2 separate regions of the Homo sapiens genome follow, and region 1 is linked to region 2. The links are contacts of gene promoters, found by promoter capture Hi-C in human tissues and cell types (Jung and others, 2019). All regions are on one chromosome and are shown on one strand. The core of a region is centred on a gene start or on the middle of the fragment in contact, and the rest is flanking DNA. Distances in the headings are between cores, read along the strand shown. Region 1 has its middle 130 kb from the start of CCDC201. Region 2 holds the start of RAMP3 (receptor activity modifying protein 3).

Region 1 (6,720 bases), core at 1,001-3,500, 580 kb before region 2:
CCTATTTTCTGCTATCTGCATTGGGACACAAAAGGTAATGGTGTGTTCCTTGTAAAGGGGAACTTATAGTTGAAGAGGTATGATGTCACCTGTGACATATACTTGTACCAAAAATGAATGACAACCAAGAAGAAAATGTTCATGGTTGGAATGCTTTGATGTCAAGGCTGGGACAAAGGTTTCTAAAGCAGTTGAACTCTTTGATGAGAGATTGACAAATTAGCCTGAACTGTTCAGTGTCAATCACCAGATACGCCAGGAGTAGGGAGCTGTCTGACTTGCCCTAAGTGGAGTGGTAGAGCTTTAGAAGTAACTGTTGTGGCTATAAGAGAACATGAATTTATCAAGGGACAAAGTCTGGGAGATGAGATTTTTGGAAAACTCAGACTTAGGACTAAGGGGAGTGAACTATCAGAGAATTGCATGGAAATGTCAGTACGATATGAATCAGAGTAATTGAATATCACATTTTATTCACAAAGGGGGAGATTCAAGAAGCTGGATTGTGAAGTAACAGTAAAGGTTTTCTGGATGTAAGGAATGATAAAAACAGTACAACAATACGCTTTTTTTTTTGAGACGGAGTCTCACTCTTATACCCAGGATGGAGTGCAGTGCACGATCTTGGCTCACTGCAACCTCCACCTCCTGGGTTCAAGCTATTCTCCTGCCTCAGCCTCCCAAGTAGCTGAGATTACAGGTGTCCGCCACCACACCCAGCTGATTTTTGTATTTTTAGTAGAGATGGGGTTCCACCATGTTGGCCAGCCTGGTCTCAAACTCCTTGAGCTCAGGCAATCCACCTACCTCGGCCTCCCAAAGTTCTGTGATTACAGGCATGAGCCACCACACCCAGCCAACAATACACCTTTGTGTTTGTCTCCCAGAAGGGAGTTTTAGTAAAGTGGTGAAGATGAATGATGGCAGATATAGGAAGTTTGAGATAGAACAGATGATGGGAAGAGGGAGAACTGACAATACAGAGTATTGCCACACCGTGTATATCCAAGAACACTACATTGGTAAAGGATATCCATGGAGCAGCTAAGGGTATCTTCGGTGTCTTGAATAATTAAATAATGATGACATCATCCCGTATTTATTGTAGATTTATCTCATATGTATTGATTTTATATATGATAGAAATGCTGTAAGCAAAAATTTGTTTAACCAAAATACCACATTCACCTAGACAGTTTGAAGAAACAGAAATTTACTCTAAAATTCCCTAGTTTGAAAGCAACTTGATATGTCATCTGAAATGTATTATTATGTCTTAATAAAAACTCATATATTACCTTAGTAATATTGCTAAAAGGCAATTACTTTTAGATTTTATGAGCTTCAGTAGTAGCTAATCTACACTCTCTTGTCTAGTATTTAAATAGATAATATAAAAATGAATACTCTTTCATAGAAAGGTCATCCTTCAGTTACTGCTTTGGGAGATTTGTGGGTTTTTTTTTTTTCTTTTTTGAGGATTCATTTTCTTTATTTAAAAAAATGTTTTTGGCCGGTCGCGGTGGCTCACGCCTGTAATCCCAGCACTTCGGGATGCCGAGGTGGGTGGATCACAAGGTCAAGAGATTGAGACCATTCTGGTCAACATGGTGAAACCCTGTCTCTACTAAAAATAAATAAATTAGCCAGGCGTGGTGACACGCACCTGTAGTCCCACCTACTCAGGAGGCCGAGGCAGGAAATCGCTTGAACCCAGGTGGCGGAGGTTGTAGTGAGCCAAGATTGCACCACTGCACTCCAGCCTGGCGAAAGAGGGACAGAGGGAGACTCCGTCTCAAAAAAAAAAAGAACAAAGAAAAAAAATGTTTTCCCCTATGTTATTTTAGGAATCAAGCAACATGGGACGTGTTGAGGAGACAGCACAATCGGGCAGGAAGGAGGGTTGAAGAGCAGACAGGCTCGCTGGGAGAGCAGAGGACAGGGACGGGGAGAGAGGGTGGGATGGAGAGGGCATCTGAGGGGAGATGGTCAGAGGTCGACTGCTGTCTCAGGCCCTTTTTCAAAGTCATCCCAGCTCTTTGAAAGGGGCTTATTTGCCATTTAAGAGCTGTTGATGTTTCTTTAAAAATGAATCTCAGGGTGTGTGGCTGGGCAGCAGGCACCAGCACCAAGAGGAGTACAAACAAGGTCCCTGGGCTGAGGATCCCACTGTGGGCAAAGCCTGTAGTGCAGAGAAGTGGCGGAAAACTTAGGGCTCCAAGAGGCAGACCTACAGGGAGCTGGCCATTTGCACTCACCCTTCCTATCCTAGGCAAAAGAGGGAGCGAGCTGAGGAAAAGTTAGAACTAGGCTTCTTTAAAGTAACAGATTAAGCACTATTTAATTTCTGCTCTAGACCTCAAAGGAGTTAAACCAGGCGACTTCCACCAGATTTTCTTGATTCTGTGTTTATTCCATGAGAAGCTGTGGGCTCGATCCTGTACAAGTTCTAGAACTTCGTGGAACCTGCAGAACCTATATGGGCAGTTGAAGTGAGTGGAGAAACCAGGAATCTCAAAATATCTCAATATAAAGACACCACTCCTTCCCCTCTCTTCACTGCTCCTGCAAAAGCAGGTCCTCCACGCCACTGCTGCCTACCCAGACCGCTGCACTCTCACTAATGAGGCTATTTCTTTCTTGACTTCGCTGTGCTCTTGGCCCAGTGACAACAATCAGAAATAATCCGGCGCAATCAAGCCCATGCTACCCTGGACAGAGAGTAATATTTCCATCCAAGGCCTCCCTAGTGGTTTTCCCTCTCTGAGCAGCGGGGACATGGAGCAGCTGTCAAAACACCAAGGGAGGCCCAGGAAAGATGCTCATCTCCGGGGAGGAGCGGAGGGGACAGCCAGCATGTCTTCAGCCAGGAAGGGGCATGACAGCACAGGGCAGCCTGTGGGGGGCATGGCGGGGTGAGAAATCTTCCTGTGGCTGTGGAAATCTTGATAAGGTGGCGAATGTGTTGTATAGTGGCATCCTGAAGGCTGCCTGCCCTCCCAGGCACCCAGGGCAGGCAGGCAAGCTGCACGCTGTCATCGCCTAAGTCAGAGGCATGGGGCACACTTAATTACAGGGGAAGCAGAATCTGACTGCACTTTCTGTGCCAGCTGCTGAGTTCGTTTGCATCGTCATTTTTTTTTCCTTTTTCATACCTCAATGGAATAAATCTGAAAGATGTTTAGAGCTAGATTTTCACCAGCAGGTCTTCAGAAATGAATACAGGGATGAGGAATTTCATCCATTTATCCTTGCATTGGCTGAGCAAATATTTATTGAGTGCCTGTTGTATCCAGGTACTGTGCTTGGTGCTAGGGGGGTTCTCAGATTTGTTTTCTAAGGTGAAACAATCGGAATTTGGAGCCACCGATATTTTCCATGCTCATCACAAGGGAGAGGGGAGCTATAATATTTGGACATCACAATGAGATAAACTGGAAGTAATCAGCCCAGAAGACACTGCCTGGTTTCTGGAAGGTGAAGATTGAGATGCAGGCTCATAGGTGGGAAGCTCTGCCTTTGATCTGGGCATTGTGATATTTCCATTAATGAGGCATAAGGTGGAAAGGTGGTGCCTGTCATCTGGGCTTGACAATCTTCTCAATGCCCTAGAAGAAAGTCTTCCCTCCTATGGCCATTTCTCTTTTTCTTTTTTTCTTTTTCTTTTAAATTATACTTTAGGTTCTAGGGTACATGTGCACAACGTGCAGGTTTGATCCATATGTATACATGTGCCATGTTGGTTTGCTGTACCCATCAACTCATCATTTACATTAGATATTTCTCCTAATGCTATCCTTCCCCCAGCCCTCCACCCCTGACAGGCCCCAGTGTGTGATGTTCCCCACCCTGTGTCCAAGTGATCTTATTGTTCAGTTCCCACCTATGAGTAAGAACATGTGATATTTGGTTTTCTGTCCTTGTGATAGTTTGCTGAGAATGATGGTTTCTAGCTTCATCCATGTCCCTGCAAAGGACATGAATTCATCCTTTTTTATGGCTGCATAGTATTCCATGGTGTATATGTGCCACATTTTCTTAATCCAGTCTATCGCTGTTGGACATTTGGGTTGGTTCCAAGTCTTTGCTATTGTGAGTAGTGCTGCAATAAACATACGTGTGCATGTGTCTTTACAACAGCATGATTTATAATCCTTTGGGTATATACCCAGTAATGGGATTGATGGGTCAAATGGTATTTCTAGTTCTAGATTCTTGCGGAATCGCCACACTGTCTCAATGGTTGAACCAGTTTACAGTCCCACCAACAGTGTAAAAGTGTTCCTATTACTCCACATCCTCTCCAGCATCTGTTGTTTCCTGACTTTTTAATGTTCACCATTCTAACTGACGTGAGATGGTATCTCATTGTGGTTTTGATTTGCATTTCCCTGATGACCAGTGATGATGAGCATTTTTTCATGTGTCTGTTGGCTGCACAGATGTCTTCTTTTGAGAAGTGTCTGTTCATGTCCTTTGCCCATTTTTTGATGGAGTTGTTTGTTTTTTTCTTGTAAATTTGTTTGAGTTCTTTGTAGATTCTGGATATTAGCCCTTTGTCAGATGGGTAGATTGCAAAAAATTTCTCCCATTCTGTAGGTTGCCTGTTCACTCTGATGGTAGTTTCTTTTGCTGTGCAGAAGCTCTTTAGTTTAATTAGATCCCATTTGTCAATTTTGGCTTTTGTTGCCATTGCTTTTGTTGTTTTAGTCATGAAGTCCTTGCTATGGGTCTCAAAATCTCTATGGAATCTAAATTTGGTGTCAAGTTAGCTTATTTTTTATTCTACTTTGGGTGTAAATGAAAGCAGATGAATGCCACCTTCCTTAACAATAGTCTTTTGTTCATTTTAAATCTGAAATTTTTGTTTTGGTAAAATTTTGAATTTATATTAAAGCTTTTTTAGCTTTATGCCCCCTAGCTATTAATAGAAGCAAACTCTTGCCGTTTATTTATGACAGAACACACGCAGGACTTGAAAGATGTTACTAATAATGTCCACTACGAGAACTATGGAATCAGAAAACTGGCAGCTGTGACTTATCATGGAGTTGATAACAAGAAGAATAAAGGGCAGCTCACTAAGTAAGTATATATTTTTTTCTCCAAAAAAAGGTATTCTTTCTGTAGTCAGTAATCATATTGTTTCATTTTCATTAAATTTCTCCTGGCTACTCAGTAGAAAATTTGGATAACATTCTCTATGCATAACAGCATAAATTTATATTGTTATGCTTTGTTAATAGTAGAAGCTTTTTTGAATGAACCATTTTGATAAGAGTTTTCACTTACAGATTGTGTGGAAACAAAGGACAGGCTTTAAGAAAAGGAATATTTAGGGCCGGGCGCGGTGGCTCACGCCTGTAATCCCAGCACTTTGGGAGGCCGAGGTGGGCGGATCACGAGGTCAGGAGATCGAGACCATCCCGGCTAAAACGGTGAAACCCCGTCTCTACTAAAAAAAAAAATACAAAAAATTAGCCGGGCGTAGTGGCGGGCGCCTGTGGTCCCAGCTACTTGGGAGGCTGAGGCAGGAGAATGGCGTGAACCCGGGAGGCGGAGCTTGCAGTGAGCCGAGATCCCGCCACTGCACTCCAGCCTGGGCGACAGAGCGAGACTCCGTCTCAAAAAAAAAAAAAAAAAAAGAAAAGGAATATTTAGATGAATTTATTCTTGGTTACCTTCTCTATTCCTATTCCAGGGAGTAAATTAGCTGGAGTTTCAGTTTCTTCTTTTGGTTGTTAGACTGGTGTAAGTGACTACGAAGTGTGTAGCTTTGCCCTATTGAGCTTATATCTCAAGCTGTGGTGGTTTCATGTTGGAGTCAAAAAAAGAGATGTGTGAGGAAGCTGGTAACCATGTCTGTGCCCTACTTTTAAAAAATTTGTCATTATTGAAGATCACAATTACATCATATGTCACTTAGCAATGGGGATACATTCTGGGAAATGTGTCATTGGGCTATTTCATCATTCTGTAAACATGATTGAGTGTACCTACATAAACCTAGATGGTAGAGCCTTCTGCACACCTAGGTTATGTGGTCTAGCTATTGCTTGTAAGCTGTAAACCTATACAGCATGTTACTGTACTGAATGTTATAGACAGTTGTAACATAATGTTAAGTATTTGTGTATCTAAACATAGAAAAGGTGCAGTAAAAATACAGTGTAAAAGATTACAAATGGTTTATCTGTATAGGGCACTTGGTGTGAATGGAGCTTGCAGGACTGGAAGTTGCTCTGGATGAGTCAGTGAGTGAGCGGTGAGTGAATGTGAAGGCCTGGGACATTACTGTACACTACTGTGGACTTTATGAACACTGTACACTTAGGCTATACTAAATTTACTTTCTAAATTTGTCTTTAGTAATCTTATTTTGCTGTAACTTTTATAATAACTTAAATTTTAAAAAACTTTTTATTCTTTTGTAGTAACACTTAGCTTAAAACACAAACACATGAACAGATGTACAAAAATATTATCTTTATAATCTTTATACCATAAGCTTTTTTCTATTTTAAAAGTTCTTTCTTTTTTCACTTAAAACTTTTTTTTTGTTAAAAACGAAGACATAAACTTACACATTAGCCTAGGCCTATTCAGGGTCAAGATCATCAAAATGCTACTGGGCAGTAGGAATTTTTCAGTTCCTATGGGCCACCATCATATATGCAGTCCCTTGTTGACTGAAATATCATTATGCAGTGCATAGCTGTA
Region 2 (6,646 bases), core at 982-3,481:
GTTACTGCTATCCAACCATGGCCCTTGGGCCCACTTGATTCAGTAGAATCAATATGACCACAGGTAACATGGCAGCAGGACATCATTTAATGATAAAAACGATGGTACCATGTTCATACGCTTGCACACACAGGCACACACACTATGGTGCTCCATCTTTGGGTGCTGTGAGTGAGCCTCATGAGGCCCAGTGCAGTCACTGGTGGGTGCCTTCCCATACCTCCCCTTGTTTAAGCATGAACCCTTCCACCCCACAATCCCATGCCCAACACAAGGTGATAGGGACTAAACTGAATGGAATCAAACTGACGGTCTCAGCAGCCCTTTACAGATTGCTATTATTACATCTACATTGCAGCTCGGAAACTGAGGCCAGTGAGTGCTTTATAATCTTGGGATCATGATCAGGATTTTCACCCAGACCAGAAGAGTCCAGTCAAGAGCTGGGCACCACAGCAAAGTGTCCTGCTGAGTAGACAACTGCTGGACTTCGCATCCCCACAGCCCCACACAGCATCAAATGCTTTCTGGAAAAAGGTCTGGAATTCTCAAAGAAGCCCCAGAGGCCTGCACCCTCCCTGCTGGTCCTCCTGAGCTAGTCCTCAGTCAAGAGGAACCCACCCAGCTCCTTCCTTCCAGACACAGCAGCATCCAGGGCAGATGTGGGTTCCAGTCCCGGATACCTCTGACACATCGGCCTGGGACCATGAGCAAGTTTTACCTCTCCCTGAATCTCACTCTGGCCAGTCGAACACTGGGAGGGTCTGCTGAGAAGCTGGACCTGGTCCCTATTCTGGCCAGGGAGCGTGAACCCATGTCCCATTGGAGGGGGACAGTCAGGACCAACACAACAGGACAAAGAAGTGGCCCTCAGGAACTGGGTCCACGAGAGACAGGATTATTAAGGGGGGATTCTGTGCAGGCGGAAGCCTGTGGTCCTTCTCAATTTGATACTGGAGATGATCAGGAAAGCCTCAGCTTCTCCCAGAATGAATTGAGAGGACCTTCCTTCCACTATAGCGACCAAGATCTCCACCTAAGGGGCGCTCACTGGAAGTTTGCTGAAATCCCAAATCAGCATGCTCCTGATTTCAGAAGCTGCCATCCACCTTTGCACTTCAACACAAAATCCACCACATCCTAGGCTCCAGCCCTGGAACACCAAATGAAGCCACACAAGTTCTGCACACCAAGACCTCTTCAATGGAAGGAAAATGACCACTGAGTTTGGTCCACCCTTTTCCCACCTCCCGTACCAAATCCCAAATCATCAAAACAGGCCCAACTCTGCATCTTACAGCCAGGGAAACTGGGGACCACCAGGCCAGGGCCCTCCATCACCAATGTCCCCCCCAGAACTGGCCAGGCTCAGTCACCACTCAGTGGACCCCAGCCCTCAGCAAGCACTCTTCCCCAACAGCCTTTACACACATTCTCTCTCTCTCTCTCTCTCTTACTTTTTCTTGGATAATTTCTTTAGCAAGGTACTTCAAAACAAGCTTTTAGTTTAATCTATTTCCATTTTGTGAGCAATGGTTCTTCCTAGAGTCCTGATTTCTTGCCGAAGAAGGCATTAGGAGAGGATGGCTCAGAGAGTCGCCCCGCTTCCCCTCTCAGCCAGTTCCAGGACACACACAGGCGTCCACACACTGAGGGGCCCTGGGAGGACCAGCTACCCAGTCCGGAGTCCACCCGCCCACGCCCCTGTGAGTGGTGGGCAGGCACTCAATGCCAGGACAGAGAGCTCACTACCTTACAGACAGCCCACCCTGGGGGATAAGGGGTAAAGAGCCAGACCTGGTCCACCTCTTCTCGCCCACCCTGAGGCGACCCCAGAACCGGGGCGTGGGGGGACATCACAACTAGAAGGACCGGGGGCTGCCGGACCCTGCCGTCAGAAGACCCCGGAGGGGGCCCTGTGCCTCCCTTGCCCGCCAGAGTCCTTCGCCTTCAGCTTCTCCCGGGTGGAACCCTCCCGCAGAGCCTGGGAATCCCGCCAGGGTCACTGTGCGCCCCTCCCGAGCTCCGGGGCAAGGGAAGGACCGCGGCGCAGGTGCGGGAAGGCGCGGGTCCACCCGGGTCCGGTGAACCCCGAGGAGTGGGGGCGCCCCCGGTGCGGGCCGTCGCCCCCTTACCGCAGAGCAGCAGCAGCAACGGGAGAAGTTGCGGGCGCCGCAGCGCTCCAGTCTCCATGGCTGGCCGGCCGCAGCTGGGTCACGCTCGGTCCCGCTGGGGGCGCGGCTGGGGGACGCCCGGTTGGGGTTGGGGTGGGGCGGGGCCTCAGGGGGTCCGCCCTCAGGCCGCACCCCCAGACCACGCCTGCGGCCGTGCCCCGTTGCCTCCAGATGTGGGGTGCAGTCCCTGCAGGCGCGCCGGGTGGGAGGGATGGGGGCGGCTGGAGTCTCAGCGGGGTGAGAGGGGGGCGAGGGCAGGGTTTCGAGCTGGGGACAAGCTGGGGTAAGGTGGGGTGCCGGCTGATGGGCTCTGAGGGCGGGGCTGGGGTGCTGAGCTGCAAAGGAGCTTTTTGGGAGCAGATTGTAGGGGCAGACTGGGAGGTGAGCTGGGGTGAGCGTGGGGGCCGGCTGACGGTGGGCTGGGATGCAGGCTGGAGAGACTTGGGGAACTTCCGTCCAGGCTCAGGGGCAGAGGGTGGGGGTAGACCGGGGAGGGAGCTGAGGTGAGGATGAAGCGCTGGCTGATGATGGCCTAGAGGAGTCTGGGGGTAGACTGGAGGAAGGTGGACCTGGGAGTGGGCTAGGTGTGCCCTGGCCGAAAGTAGACCAGAGTCCAGAGCTGCCCCCAGGCAGGGAGGGGAACTTTGAGCAGAGATACATCTAGGAGCCAGGTCTCCAAAGGTCAGGAAAGTGCATAAAAGAGGTTGGGGGGTGTGTGTGTGTGCGTCTGTGTGTGTGCGTGTGTGTGTTGTTCATGGAGTACGTGTGTGTGATGTGCATGTGGGGTGTGTGTAGATGCATGTGTGTGCATGGAGTGTGTGATGTATGGTGTGTGTGTGGCATGTGTGTGTTTGAGTCTGAGACAAGGTGTGTTTGTGAGTGTATGCTTGGGAAACAGTGTGTATGAGAGAGACTGGAGGGTGTGGCAACTACACACACAGAGACGTATCACACACCAAGAACCAAGCCACAAGCAAACCAAGGGACAGGAGAGTATCTGGCACCACCAAAGACCTGGCCTTGAAGAGTGTCAGGGTCCCTGAGGCGAAGGAGGGCCTCAGTTTCTCCAGCCACAGGTCACTTGGCCAGATGGGTCACCTCTGTCACCCTCAGCCCCTAGCACAGGCCCTGGCTCCAGTGGACACTTAATGGTGTCTTAAGAATTGTCACTGGTCAGGACTTCCGAGAGCCAGCTAGAGGCACCTCTCTGCCCTCCAGGGCCCACCCACCACCCCTGGGGGCACATGCTGGTCTGAGGTTGGGGCACAGGCCCAGGCTCCTACATGGATGGGCCCTCCACTCCTCTGAGCCGTAGGTACTGCTACCTTCCCAGGAGCTGAGCTGAACTTCTCCTGGCTTAGAAAGACCCACTTTATTTAACAAGACCCTTATTCGGGAGAAGAACTTTCTGTGCTTTTTTACTGAAGAAATTCTGATTACAGCCAGAATTAATTCAAAGGAGTCAAAACTAATTAAAATTGATCATTTGTCCTGCCTTCTGCCTGAGGGGTGGGCAGCAGGTGTAGGGGTGGCCACAGAGCCTCTAGTGAGACTGATGGTGCCCACAGCCAGGCCTTCTGCCCACAGGCCAGGGGTCATAAAACAAGCTGACCAGGGCAGCAGGGGGCTGGCTTACACACACGCACACCCTACACCAGCCAAGACAAACCAAGAGGATGGTCCAGGCCCAGGTGTCCACCCACATCCCACACAGACTCGGCCCTACAGCTCTCTCCAGGAGAGTCTTAGTCTCCACTCGGTCCCACAGCCCCAAAGGCGGTTGCACATAGCTTGCAGGCTGGAACAGTAGGATGGGGTTGTCAGGTGGGAGGGGGGCAGCCAGTTCCCCCAAGCCTGCACCAGGGAGCAATGCTCCCTTTCCTGGACTCCCCACCCTGGCTCTGCAGTGGGGAAGCCCTGGCCATTCTACAGAGTTGGGTTCCAACACCTCTCCTCCATGGAACCAACCATGCCCCAACAAACTCCCAGGGAGTTGTGTCTACTGCCCCTAGGTCCCTCTAAGGCAGGGCCCTCACTTCTCCTCTCTGTGCCCAGTGGTGCCCATGGCCTCTGCAGGGCAGGTGGGTTTAACACAGGCTGTGAGGAGCTGAGCCATGGGAGAGAGGGACCTGCCCCTTCCACGGTGCATCCCCCCGACCCTGAGTGTGGAAAGGCTGCCGCCATAAATGAGATTGACCATGGGGTGTGCCCTGGACAGCACCTGTCTCCCTGCTTGTCCCTCGGTGGGTGCTGGCCCCGGCACCATTCCCTGTGTCTGCGATCCTGTGTGCACTGGGGTCCTCTCAGGAATCCCCTCTTAGCGTTCATAATTATTTATTTATTTTATTTATTTATTTATTTATTTATTTATATTTTTTTTAGAAGGAGTTTCATTGTTATTGCCCAGGCTGGAGTGCAATGGCATGATCTTGGCTCACTGCAACCTCTGCCTCCGGGGCTCAAGAAATTATCTTGCCTCAGCCTCCCGAGTAGCTGGGATTACAGGCTTGTGCTACCATGCCCGGCTAATTTTTGTATTTTTAGTAGAGACGGGGTTTCTCCATGTTGGTCAGGCTGGTCGCGAACTCCCGACCTCAGGTGATCCTCCTGCCTCGACCTCCCACAGTGCTGGGATTACAGGCGTGAGCCACCGCGCCCGGCCGGTTCATAATTCTTTACACCAAACTTCCCCATTCAGGTTGCGGTGTAGTCTCTCTCCTGATCAAGCCCTGATTCACCATTATCATGATATTTATTCTGTGATTCCTCTTATTCTTAAATAGTTGTAAGAGAACATTTTCTTGACACTCAAGTGGCCTCTTCTAAGAGGAAGAAATAACATCCTGGTGTTTCTACCAGATCAGGGGAACACATGGCCGCTGGGCCTTCACTCTCCCTGGAAGTAATGCTTCTGCCCGGAGTCCACGTGTCCAGGCAAGGGCCTGAGCACAGAACCTGGTGAGGTTTGGGATCTGGTTCTGCTTGCTCTGGGGCTAGACTTCAGGAGGGTGGGGGTTGAGAAGGAGCCAAGGGAAGCCATTCCCGGGCACCTGGCTCCCCCTGCTGGACAGACACTGAAATAACGGTATCATTGTCGATGAGACTACGCCTCTGTCCCTGAGGCAGCAGCAACGCCTCGGTGACCCCTCTCCAGGGACACAGAGGACCGGTCTTCAAAGAAGGGTGATGAAGGAGATTCCAGGAAGGGGTGCCTCTGACCCTCAGCTGTTTTCCACCTTCCCACGGATCAAGACACAGCCTTCCATCTCCTGTTGCGTTTGTTTGCTCATTTGTTTAATTGCAATAAAAAATACTTAACGTCAAATCAAGCATTTTAGGATGGGTGTGGTGACTTATGCCTGTAATCCCAGCACTTTGAGATGCCGAGGTGGGCTAACTGCTTGAGCTTAGGAGTTCTAGACCAGCCTGGGCAACATGGTGAAACCCCGCCTCTACAAAAAAAATACAAAAATTAGCCGTGTGTGGTGAGGTGCGCCTGTAGTCTCAGATACTGTGGAGGCTGAGATGAATTTCCTTTTTTTTTTTTTTGAGACATAGTTTTGCTCTTGTCACTCAGGAGTGCAATGGTGCCATCCCGGCTCACTGCAACCTCCACCTCCTGGATTCAAGCGATTCTCCTGCCTCAGCCTCACAAGTAGCTGGGATTACAGGCCCTCCCACCACGCCCAGCTAAATTTTGTATTTTTGGTAGAGATGGGGTTTCACCATGTTTGCCAGGCTGGTCTCGAACTCCTGACCTCAGGTGATGCGCCCACCTCAGCCTCCCGAAGTGCTGGGATTATAGGTGTGAAGCACTGCGCCCGGCCTCCTTCCTTCTTAAGGCTGAATAATATTCTGTTGTGTGGATAGACCACATTTCATTTACCCATTCATCTGCCATTCATTTCCTTTTTTAAGTCAATGAAGCAAGTTTACTTTCATTTTATTTTATTTTTGAAAAACCTATCAGAAAATGTCTTGAGGAAAATACATTAAAATGTTATCTGTGGTCATTTCTGGCTCTGGAAAGATTTAAAGTGGTGTTTAATTTACATTACCTTCTGCTGGTCTCTGCTTTCTCATTTTCCTACAGTGCATTTTGTGGCATGTGGTGGGTTTTATATAATGCATGTGTTGTGAGAGTTTATGTGTGTGCACTGATGAGTATATGTACCTGTGTGGGTGTGTTGTGCAGCTCACGAATGTGTGGCATGTGTGTATGGGATGTGTGTGTACCTGCTGTGAGGTGATGGTGTGTGTGTGTGGTGTATGAATGGGTGTTCATGTGTGTTGTGTGTGGAGCATATATGAATCTATGTGTCTCATGATTGTGACTGTGGTGTGGGGCATAAGTGTATGCACACGTGAGGAATGTGTGAGTGTGTTCAGGCAGAACATTGTTGGCCCCTGCTGGACAAAATACGCACAGTCATTTCCTGGAGCACAACCTCCCCTCTCCCACCACATCATCT

Evidence for each region. Contacts are between HindIII fragments. The study calls those that stand out against the background at their distance.
Region 1: a contact is called between a fragment that was not itself captured here and the fragment with the promoter of RAMP3 in region 2, in 1 of the 25 tissues and cell types used here (dorsolateral prefrontal cortex).

The regions. Positions count from the first base shown.
Region 1 is chr7:45,735,152-45,741,871 of GRCh38, reverse strand. It overlaps the pseudogene SEPTIN7P2. Among named protein-coding and RNA genes, the nearest start is that of CCDC201, 130 kb to the left of the region's middle. The HindIII fragment of the contact is 7,260 bases long and covers 1-5,880 here.
Region 2 is chr7:45,153,376-45,160,021 of GRCh38, reverse strand. It overlaps RAMP3 (receptor activity modifying protein 3), which reads right to left and starts at 2,231. Exons shown (of 3, transcript NM_005856.3): 1 at 2,136-2,231. The coding sequence starts at 2,193. The HindIII fragment of the contact is 28,590 bases long and covers 1-6,646 here.